Regions from separate parts of the Homo sapiens genome. Here region 1 is linked to region 2. The links are contacts of gene promoters, found by promoter capture Hi-C in blood cells and fetal thymus (Javierre and others, 2016). All regions are on one chromosome and are shown on one strand. Each heading gives the region's core, a stretch centred on a gene start or on the middle of the fragment in contact. The rest is flanking DNA. Distances are from core to core; before and after follow the strand shown. Region 1 has its middle 80 kb from the start of LRP1B. Region 2 holds the start of KYNU (kynureninase).

Region 1 (5,538 bases), core at 1,792-4,291, 670 kb before region 2:
AGGGAAAATCTGTCCACTCTAAGTGCATATTTGAAGATTGGTTTTTAGCCAATCTTTCCTTTTTAATCCTCAATCCAACCACCTGCTTTTCATTACACACAACTTCTAAATCCCCCTGGGGTCTTCAGCCCTAAGAAGATTGCTTGTCATGATCTCCCTGCTATATAACGTAGAAACTTTCAGCTTTCTATGTTCTGCTAAATTAATTACTACTTATTTATTTGCTTTGCAACATGTAATCGTTGTCTTTCATCAGCTGTTATTCCCTTTCTCACTCTTCTTGTCCTTGAATGAACATAATTTATCCATTTAATCTGATGTTTGAGTTTAATGGAAGGTAGGGGTGGAGCAGAGATCAATGTGTGTTCTTAATCCTCCATATTTAACAAGGTGAACTCACCCGTATTAGTTTGTTAGGGCCGCCATAGGAAAATACCACAGTCTGAGTGAAATAAACAATAGACATATATTTCCTCATAGTTTTGGAGGCAAAAAGTCATAGATCAACATGTCCACAGGGTTGGTATCTTCTGAGGCCTCTTTCTTTGGTTTGCATATGGCTGTCTTCTCCTCCTTATGTCTTCACATGGTCTTCGCTCTGTGTGTGTCTGTGTCCTCATCTTTTCTTTAAGGAGTTGTACTGAAAATAGGTACAGTTACGCTGAAATAGAGCCTTCCTTAATAATCTCATTTTAACCTAATTACTGCTTTAAAAACCCCTACCTCCAAATACAGTCCATTCTGTAGTACTAGGTGCTAGGGCATCAGCATACAAATTTTGATGAACACAATTCGGCCCATAGCACCACCTATGGTGAAATTAAAAATGATTTAAAAACTGAAGGGAAGAAATCTTAACAGGATATTTAAGACTTTTGTCAGCAGATACCAATACCACAGAAAGGGAATAGGAATGTCTAGACAGGCATGTTGGACAAAGATTCAAAAGAGCATGGTCCAGCAGCACAGACCATGTGCAAGTAACTTCATGCGTGTATAAAGGACAACACTCGGAGTTCTTGAAAACCAAAAATTGGAGCCAGAGACATCTGAATGCAAATAGCCAAAAATCAATTCCATATGGAACAAACAGACAAAAAACATTACAGCAGCAATACAGGTAAATATAGAGCATCCCAGGATTTATTTTCAGGTTTATGAAACAAGGATCACTAACAGCACTGGAGAACAAAATTAGAGTAGGAGAAAGACTGACTTGATTTTGTCACGGAGGATTTAATGTATAGCTGCTTAAGTTTCCAACATTCAGTAATACTGAGTGTATAAAGAGTTTTTGGTGACTATGTGTTTAGGAGGTCATAAGGGAATGTTGTATCAGTTATTCTAAGTAGTTGATGTTCAAAACACTCTGTAATAATATTAAGCTTGCAATGGTGGCTCTCTAAATAGATATAGGTTAGGGGGCAACATATTGAATCTTCTTGAGTTTGCCATACCACCATAATCGTAACTTTTGTTAGAATATTTTTTCTCTCTTGGCTTGTCTCCGATTGATGAATCATATCATTGTTTATCCCAGGAAAACAAATGATCTATGTCTATGGTAAGTTATAATCTATTTCTATAGCAACATTTTCACCTGCATATGTCTTCAAGTCATTAAAATAATACTTAGCCAATGTAGTCTAAACTGTAATCCAATTATTCTACTTTTATAAAGTGAAAAATAACACAGAATACGTACCTTTTCTTGACTATCATTGACAATATTTTACCTCATGTTAGAAAAGAATATATCAAAGGATTATTAAAATGGATTAAAGTACTTAATGGTAGCATGGCATTTATGCCTGCATCACAGTTGACAAGCAAATATAGTGAAAGTTGCCAAAATCGGAGTTTCAATTACTTATGAAGATTTTGGTTGTCTAGCTATGAATAAACCTGTGAAATTGCACAAGGTGCCTTAGGAGACCATGGCCTGGCCTTCCATTAATCAGAAGAATGCCCAAGTCTAAATATTGACTGATGATTGCTTTCCTCTCTGGGAGCATCTCAGGAGACTGGTACTATAAAAAAAGAAAACCAAGTTCACAAAACCCAGGGCTTGAAATAAACATGAAATGAGAATACAATCCTTTCTGAGAATTAAAAATCAATCCTTGCACTAAAAATGAAATATCTGTCTCCTATATAAGTAAAATGTCAAGACATATATTTAGCTTTTTTACATATTTGCCATTAATTACTTTTATGGGATATATATACTTTGAATTCTTAGTTATTAATTCTAATTTGAAAATTAATTTTTATTAATAGTAATTCAATTCTGCTTATAAAATTTCACATATATATTACGTGGGTTTCATAACTTTAAACTATACAAAAAATTTCTATTATGAATTCTCTCATCAAATGATATTCCAATGAATAAATATTTGAAGTGTGTAAGCTTTTTGACCCACATGAAAATACATGTAAATATGCTACAATTATAAATGCTTCCTCAAGCTTATTTTAATTGGGAAGTCATAATGTAATGGGTTAAACGGTAGACTTCAATAACTGAATGTAGCTTTCATTTAACCCTTAATGTGATATTGAAAGTTTTGTTTTTTACTTTTTTATACCTTTTTTTTTTCCTGAAGAAGATTACAGTTTCCCTTCCCTTGCTCATTGAATATTCATGGTATTTGTGGAATAGAAAATATAATTTGCCATGCACTGTCAAAGAAAATCTGCTAGTTATACATTATTGCTTTAAAGCTCCTACTGATATTGAACAAATTAATATATGTTGATAGATATTCTTTTATCAGAAAGTGAATGAAAGCAAGACATTTAAAATGAGACTTTGAATTCAAAATAGCTTTGGGCCCCTGGAAAAGCCTGAGAAAATTCACCTGAAAAGGACTCTTAAACTAGAAGCAAAGACCCTGTAGTTCAAAGGAGAGTGGGGAGCTTCACCCCATTCATTCTCAGATGTAAAACACAATTATAAAATTTGTCTTCTGTGGTCTCTGTGGTATGACTCTTCTTTCATGACAATATGGTGGCATTAAAAAGTAATGATTCTAAAAGTGTAGAGAACAGATAGCTAACTAAAAATCCTGAAGTTTGGACTCTACCCTAAACATATGAAATTGACATGAAGAGTGTGTTGGGAAAGAGTGCGAGAGGCGGCAAATTCAATATATTTAACTAGGTACCTCTGAGACTCACCAACGTTTGAAAACCATTGTTTAGACATACTGGTCTTTACTCTCTCGTTTTCCATAATTTTAGATCCAGATATTACGCTAAAATGTCTCATCACTTACTACCTTCCAGAGTGCTGTTACTTTGCCTCTGTGCAGTTGATGTTTACTGTTTGTACCTCATACACTTAAGCCCAACATTACAGTTTCCTCAAATTAACAATGACCTATCTGCTAAAACGCATAAACTAGAGAACCTTCCCCCAATTCGGGTTCACTTTCTAGTCTCTTAAAATAATATTTTCTGTCCAAGGTATAACCCTAATTGTTATGCCTTTTAAAATGCAGGGGCAATTCTGACCAAGAGGAATGGGAAATAAGTTTATTTTAAAATATCAGACCATAAATTTTAGGTTTCTCAGGACACCATAGTCTATTTTAAGTTCTACTACATAAGCTTAATATTTACTCTGCCAACTATAGCTCCATCTTAATTCATAGGTGACCCTCAATTTCTCTTATGTTTAAAGAACACCTCTCAAAGAAAAATAGAAATTCCCCAGTATAAATTTGTAGAATTTAAGAAGTTTTATAAGACAAAGGGATTGATAAAATAAGGATAATTATATACCCATCTCGTGTTTTAGGGGTTAAAAGAAATTAATATAAACTTAATACCTAGGTAGACATTGTTACATTTTATGTGTCCAACAGGTTATTTTTTACAGAAATTCTCAGAGATTTTAATATGTTAATGTGCATTGTGACTATTCATGTGGAGTGTAGAGTATGCATTATTTTCCAAGTGTACTTGAGTAGATTGAGGAATTTGGACTACTATTCCAGGAAACACAGTCTAGAAAAGACCCTCCAAGATTGTCTGTCCAGCATAGATGTTGGGTACTCCAGAGAGTACAGAAAACACCTTGTGAAACAAAAGCTAAAATAATCAACTTCAGGTAAATGAGAAATGCTGCATGCTTGTCTCTTGTCCTGATTTCATTTATCATCAGTGGACATCCCAAAGCTTAATTGTTATAATGTATGTAGGGTGGTCAAATAGCATGTATACAATAGCAGTTTGGAAAATCCCTTTTCAGTATTTATTGAACTCTGTATTCCAGTGTTAAATTTTCCACAAAACAAAGAGAATTCTGTCAGCCCTATCATTGTCTACTGAAAATTCCTAATGCATATCAGATTGTTTTGTTCTCCACATTTATCAGTAATCTGATGGTTGCCGATTTAATATATCTGAAATGCTATGTGGAAAATATATATTGGTTCAGTTTATCAAATTTCTGATCCTCTTTTTCAGGGCACTTTGTAGCACGTGTTTTCCTTGTGACTTGTCTTGGCAAATGATATGTGAGCAGAAGTTATGTGTCACTTCTGGACAGAGATTTCAAGAAATGGTGCATAGGTTGTTGTGTCCCCTTCCTCGGGTGGTAGACTAACAACTTTCCAGATAGCGTAGGATCTGCAGGTCTGTTTCTCTGTATAAGGATAATAGATATGCCTTTATTGGCTAAGCCACTGAAATTTGGGGCTTGCTTTTTACATCAGCATGACAGAGACATCATCTTGAGTCATACATTTTGATATCAGAAAAGAAAAGAAAGATGTCCTTAGAAGTTGCTAAAAGTTTTGTTTTCCTATCATTGTATCATCTATCCATTAGATGAAGTGACAACATCAACTTTCTTAACTTCCAAGCTAAGAACTTTAATGCTGAAGTTAACTAAAATTCCAGCAAGTAATAGAAACCTAAGCAGTCAAACATCAGGCACTCCTGACATTTAACTAAAACATATTCTTAGGTAATGTATACCATTTTTTGATTACATATAGCCATTTGAAAATTATATATTCATTCAACATATGTTATTTTACATTTTGTACCAGCAATTGTAATGTGCTGAATCACCTAGAAGTTTTCAAGAATTTTGTTCTCGAGACCCATTTACCCTTAAACATTGTTGAGTGCTCCAAAAAAGTTTTATATGTGAGTTATTACCACAAATATATATTCAAAATTAAAACTTGGAATATTTTAAACTAACATTCATTTTGCAAAAATTATAGATTCACATGTTGTTGTAAGAAATAATACAGAAAGATCTGTGTACTCTTTCCCTATTTTTCACCATTGGTAATGACTTATAAAACTATAGTGCAATATCACACTCAGAATATGGACGCTAATACAGTCAAGATACGGAATATTTCCATCAGCACAAAGACACTCATGTGGCTCTTTTATAACCATGCCCAATTCCCACAGTCCCCATCCTTTCCTTCATCTTTGAGAATCATTAATCCACTCTCTATTTCTGTGATTTTGACACATCAAGAGTGTTATATAAATAGAAGTTATACA
Region 2 (5,577 bases), core at 1,648-4,147:
CAGCCTTGGATTCTTACATAAAGAGTTTGCTGATCTGAATTTAATTTAGTTAATGATCCAGCAAGCACCCATTTTAGTCTACTAAATGCTAGATACTGGCCTAACTATGGCGAAAATGCCCTGAAGAATAAGAATAAAGTTCATGGTTCAAGATTACCTTTTGAGAGGACAAAACTTTCCCATATTTCCAATAATCAATTTTTAGAAAATAAACTAGATCTTAATTAAAAAAAAACAAATTAACCAATTCAGTAGATATTTATTTAGCTCCATACATAGGTAGAGCTCTGAGGAGGATAAAATTAGTCTTTTCCTCTCGGAAACATATCATTTTATAAGCAGGATGCCATACCTGGAAATTAATAGACAACTCGGAATTGTACAACAGCTTATTCTGGCAACACTTTTTTTCTTCCTGTTTCCAAAAGGAAGGAATGGTATCTCACAGTGTTCTCTGTTTAACCTTGACTGCTGGCCCTGTAGCGGGTCTTGCTTTCACCCCTCCCCGCATGACTCGTTCTCTCATAATTCCCTTCTGTATTTAGCGGCCTATGTTATTATACAAGTTTTGCTCCCCATTACATCCCTGGCATTTCACTTTGTGCTTGGTACAGAGAATATGCTTAATACTTTTCTTGAATGAATGAAAGTGTCAACTGAAGAATGACAGGTTCATACATTTGGAAAGGAGAGCTTCATTTCACATAAAGGATTGCAGCCTGCAGGGTGATCATTCTGACCTCTGAAAAGTATAGCCTCTAATCAGAAGCTGGAAACAGACATTTTGAGGGAGGAGCAAAGGAAACAGAAATTTATGTTGAGCAGGGTAGCTGAATATATATATTCAATAAGCTATAGGGGAAGCCATGAATATTTGTGAAAGGAGAAATGTGCACATGCACAATGGAGTTTCATGCTTCTCCATGGGATCCGTGTTCAAAAAATGACAGCATTAATACAATCTGAGGGGGCAGTTTTCAGCCCAATGTGAAGCAGAGGACATGAAAACCTTTACTGCACATTCTCCATAGACTAGCCAGAAACATTCCATGATCAGTATTTTCTTTTTGTTCCAAACCACAAAAGAGAGGGATAACACCAGGTGATGGTTGATGTCATTGGTGTAATCTTTTGAAATGACTGGTTTCTTTTTAGCCATAGGGCAGAAAGCCTAATCATAGTTAGTGATGGAGCGGGTATGTGTTCCACTTCCTATCCTGTCATGGCCAAAAACTTAGTTTTCAAGTTTACTCTGGGATCCCCTTGGCCAAGAGCGTGTCCGTTCAGTTAATCTAGGGGCTTGGGATTTTATTTTTATTCCTCAAATGTAACAAATTTAAAGAAAGAAAGAAATTTATAAAACATAAGAAATAGAAGTATAGCTTAGACCTCCAAGCAAGTTCTTTAAAGGTGACAAGTTAAACAGTAGTTTTTAAGATAATATTTTGATGAAATTTTTAATCATATTATTACAAGATTTTAGAAGAAGCAAGATCTTGTGAAAACAAAACCTTAATGTCCATATCTAGCTCTCTAAATCTATAGTCAGTCTTTAAAAGAGTGACACAAAAATGACACAGATCCGCCCTCTGGTTCGCTCCCCATATATTAGAGCCTGGTAATCTTCCAAAGTTTTTACAGCATGAGGCATACACAGAATAGATGCAAAAAAAGTACACCTTCTGAAATTTCCTGAATGGATTCAAACTTTTACTATTCTAAGTTAATCAATTGGTAGTCTACTTACTTTATAGGATTATTGTAAGGATAGGATCAATGAAGTGAAATATATTTTATTTTCACTGGTCAATTACTCGTATTAAAGCAATTTCATGCACTTTATCTCCCTCTCTTGGAAACTGGAGAGTAGTACTTTTTGTCTGGTTACTTAAGATTAAAAAAAAGACAATATGTCACTTTTGACTTGAGTGTCATGGTATCTATGGCCTTCAACCTGCATGGTTTTATCGTTTCAGTAATCTTGGGAGGAAGGTATTATTAAGTTCATTTGATAAATAGGAGACTGAGCCTCCACAAGGGTTAAGTGAATTGCTCAGGGTTATACAATGAACACTTGATAGAAATGATTAAATGACACTTTACTTGATTTGTTGTGGGTTACTAAATAAAGCATAGGTGTGCATAAGTCATTCAATTATTCAAGCACATTCTTCATCCCTAGTCCTAATATCGAAAGTCTTTGCTCTTAGTTTTTATAACTACAAGGATATTCATCAAAAGACCCAAGCTCAGGAATAAGCCTAAAGAGGTAGTCAGACTAGAACAAAAGACAATTCACAGACTTAAATGAATAATTTGCATTAATGAAGTTTGCCAGGCTAGTTTCCACTTGAATCTTCAGATCTTTCTTCCTTCATTGTCTTGTTAACTGTCCAGATTTATTACCTAGGAGTTTTTGAAAACTCACATATTAGGCAATAGAGTGTATTCTGGAATTGAGAGCCTATTTTAAACTTTTGACTAAAAAGTTTACCCATTAAATGTCATAGATTCAACCATCAGACTGAAAATCCTCAGTGTATTTGAAGGAGGGTATTGTCTCAAAAATCCAGAGCTCAAAGTGAAGAAGAAAGGCAAAATTTGGAATTTAGCTCTAAGACCAACTCATCAGTTCAGGGGTCAGAGATTTATATAGTTAAAGGACAAGTGTGTGTTTACCTGAGTTTAAAGAGCAAAGTTGCCTCTGGAAAGAAGCCCTCACTGGAGGCTCTGGCATTTGAAATGGTGGGCAGGAGCACATGTTGCTTAAATTTCTGACAGTGGCTGGAGATTACCGATTGGTTAGGGGAGAGGAAGTAAAGTAAAATATTTATAAATTCTCCACTGGGTGGAGTCTGAGCAGTTCTTTGAATTTCTCACCCTAAGATCTGGCCTGTACATTTTCAAGGAATTCTTGAGAGGTTCTTGGAGAGATTCTGGGAGCCAAACACTCCATTGGGATCCTAGCTGGTAAGCTTGAGGCGCTGATAAAAACTCTCTACCCTAATGTTTACTCCATGTTTTTTCCAAATGAAACTTCTGTCAGCTAGAATCCTTGTCATAGTGTTTTAGAGGTTTTTTTCTGCTACTCTCTTCTTTTTTTATATATATTCTTTTTGTAAATAAAAATGGTATGACCTTCCTAAAGGCCCCACCTTTAGAAATGGGTTAAATGAAAAGATCTTTACTAATGTAATAGAAAAGAACTGATGAACATAGTGCACTGAATATGGTTACATTTGACAAACCAAAGTTAGTCCTGTTCTTATTTGAGTTTAAGCGGTAAGATTAGGTCAAACTCCAGACGAGGGAAAGATATTCTTAAACAGATTTTAAGTCCTCTGTTTTCTGGTAACTTTAATTGTCTTATGCTGCTAGTAGTCATATTAAATATTTATTTAGAGAAGTGAAAATGCCTACTCTTGAACAGAGTTTCTTCCCCTTTCATTTTATGAAACCTAAGAAAAGAAAGTTGATACACTTTTTAAAAATATACTAGATTTTCTTTTTTCCTTTCTGCTTTTATTTTGAGGCCAGTGGGGTGTTATTTAGTAGTAACACTGAAGCAAATGTATTGATTTTCTTAACGTGTTCAGCAAGTAATTCATATCCTAGATATGAAATATACACTCGTAGCAGAGTAATGTTACCCATTTCTCAATGATATGCTTAAAGAATCTTGCTCAATATGCATATTGTTTTTCCTTTTTTCTTTACTAATGAAAAACTACACGCTTTCTCAACATATTTTTAAGTCAGGTTCTAAACTTTGAACTCCTATGTACAATTTGCTTATTTCAGGCATGAATGTGAAACTGTGTAAAGATTAACTACCAGACACTCAGTCATTTATTTAACTATTTAGCCCTAAATCAGTGGGTGACTAGGAGATTCTGAATTCTGTGATTTCGTTAAAATCAATCAGTTTTTAATTATTATACAAGCTTTTTACTTTAAAGTTGTAGCTGTCTAAATAAAATTGTGAAAGCACAATTTCCAAACCTAAATCGAAGGCACATTGATGCTGTCCATCAGAAGGTATTGATAATTTAAAAAAATATTACAAACTATCTTTTATCTTTTTATAAAGGACCTAATGTCATTTGAGCTTAACCATAATCCTTTGAAGAAAGTAAAATTTAACTTTAAATAACATTGACATACAGAGCAGTTAGGTGATTTGTCTGAGACCATATGGTATGTATGTCCCCCGTCTTGATAAAATTAACACTAAATATGTAACATTTGAAAATTTGTAAAATATGTAAAAGTTGAAGTTTTTAAAAGTTTGGATTTAAGTTCTTCCTTTCAGAATATGAGCATGTCACTTTATTTGCAAACTAAACATGGCATAACATTATGGCTTGTGAACACTAATTGTCTTAGCTGCTGGGGTGAATGCAGAATTAAGCAGCAATTAGTATGAGTGAATAAATTGCATCCTTAGAGTGAGTGCACTATGCTATTCTGGGAACTAAAGACTATATTTGAGACCATGCGAAGTTGTGCAAGTGGTGGAGTAGGGCAGGGTGCAGTCATTTGGAAGACTATGCCCATCAGGTATCTCAAGGTACCCCAGATGTGACAGGCCCAGGAGCGGAACCAGCCACTTTAACTTTTGCCTGGCTGAAACTGGACTGGGAAGGATGGATTAAAAAGGTAAATCAATTCATACGTAGCTTGTGGTCCTTTGCAGCTTAAGTGTAGGACTGAAAAAAGAAGCCAAAGAAAAAGGGAATGAGCTGAAGAAATACACACACGTACACACACACATCAGGAAGCAACAGGCAAGGAAAAATAAAGTGAGAGGTTCAAGGCTTCGAGGAGGAATTGAGCTCTGTGCATTCCATTCATGGGCTTTGCCAAAGACCAGCACAATGGACTCAGCATCTCAGGCATGGTTAAGTACCCTACTGTGCACTCTGCTATCCTTTTAGTCCACTGGTTTCTACTCTGTCTGTGCCAGGTTTTCATCTCAATATAGAGGAAAAGGATTCTGATGCCTCAGGATTATTACAAGCATTAAATAAGATACAGATAGAATGACGCTAATGAGTATCATTTTTAAAATAAGGAAAGTTGAATTTTATTCAGAATCTGTTGGTAACAAACTAATCTCTTTATTTAAGTAACCCCACTTAGAGTTTAAAGTCACCTCCAATCAACTCAAAGGGCTGACCTCCCAAAGAAAGTCTCAAATATAAGGCAAGCTCTCTTGATTCTGAATTTCATTAGAAATGTTTGTCTAAGTCTTTCTCATATGGTCAGAATGAGAGAGGGTGCCCTTCTAGTAATATGTCATTATGTCAAATAATTCATCAACCAATTTTGTTTATTCTCTCGAACTGCCACTTTGGCGGCAGGGGTACTCTGTCTAAATGAGATGTCTATAAAGATAAATTAAACATGATTCAGGCCCCCAGGTAGAGTTCAGTTCAGTAGGGTAGAACAGCAACTCAGTCCAGCTACCATCAGTAATATGTTTGTAGTAAGACTAATCTGATAGTAAGGCAGAAAAACATCTCATGGAATTTTAGGAATAGCCAAGAAGATGGGTCCCCTGGAGACTTGCACATA

Evidence for each region. The method cuts DNA at HindIII sites, captures the fragments that hold promoters and counts their contacts. A CHiCAGO score of 5 or more calls a contact.
Region 1: a contact is called between a fragment that was not itself captured here and the fragment with the promoter of KYNU in region 2, in 1 of 17 cell types (endothelial precursors). The highest score is 6.1, in endothelial precursors.

The regions. Positions count from the first base shown.
Region 1 is chr2:142,208,002-142,213,539 of GRCh38, forward strand. No RefSeq gene overlaps it. Among named protein-coding and RNA genes, the nearest start is that of LRP1B, 80 kb to the left of the region's middle. The HindIII fragment of the contact is 1,143 bases long and covers 2,471-3,613 here.
Region 2 is chr2:142,874,767-142,880,343 of GRCh38, forward strand. It overlaps KYNU (kynureninase), which reads left to right and starts at 2,898. Exons shown (of 14, transcript NM_003937.3): 1 at 2,898-2,970. The HindIII fragment of the contact is 4,288 bases long and covers 1-2,973 here.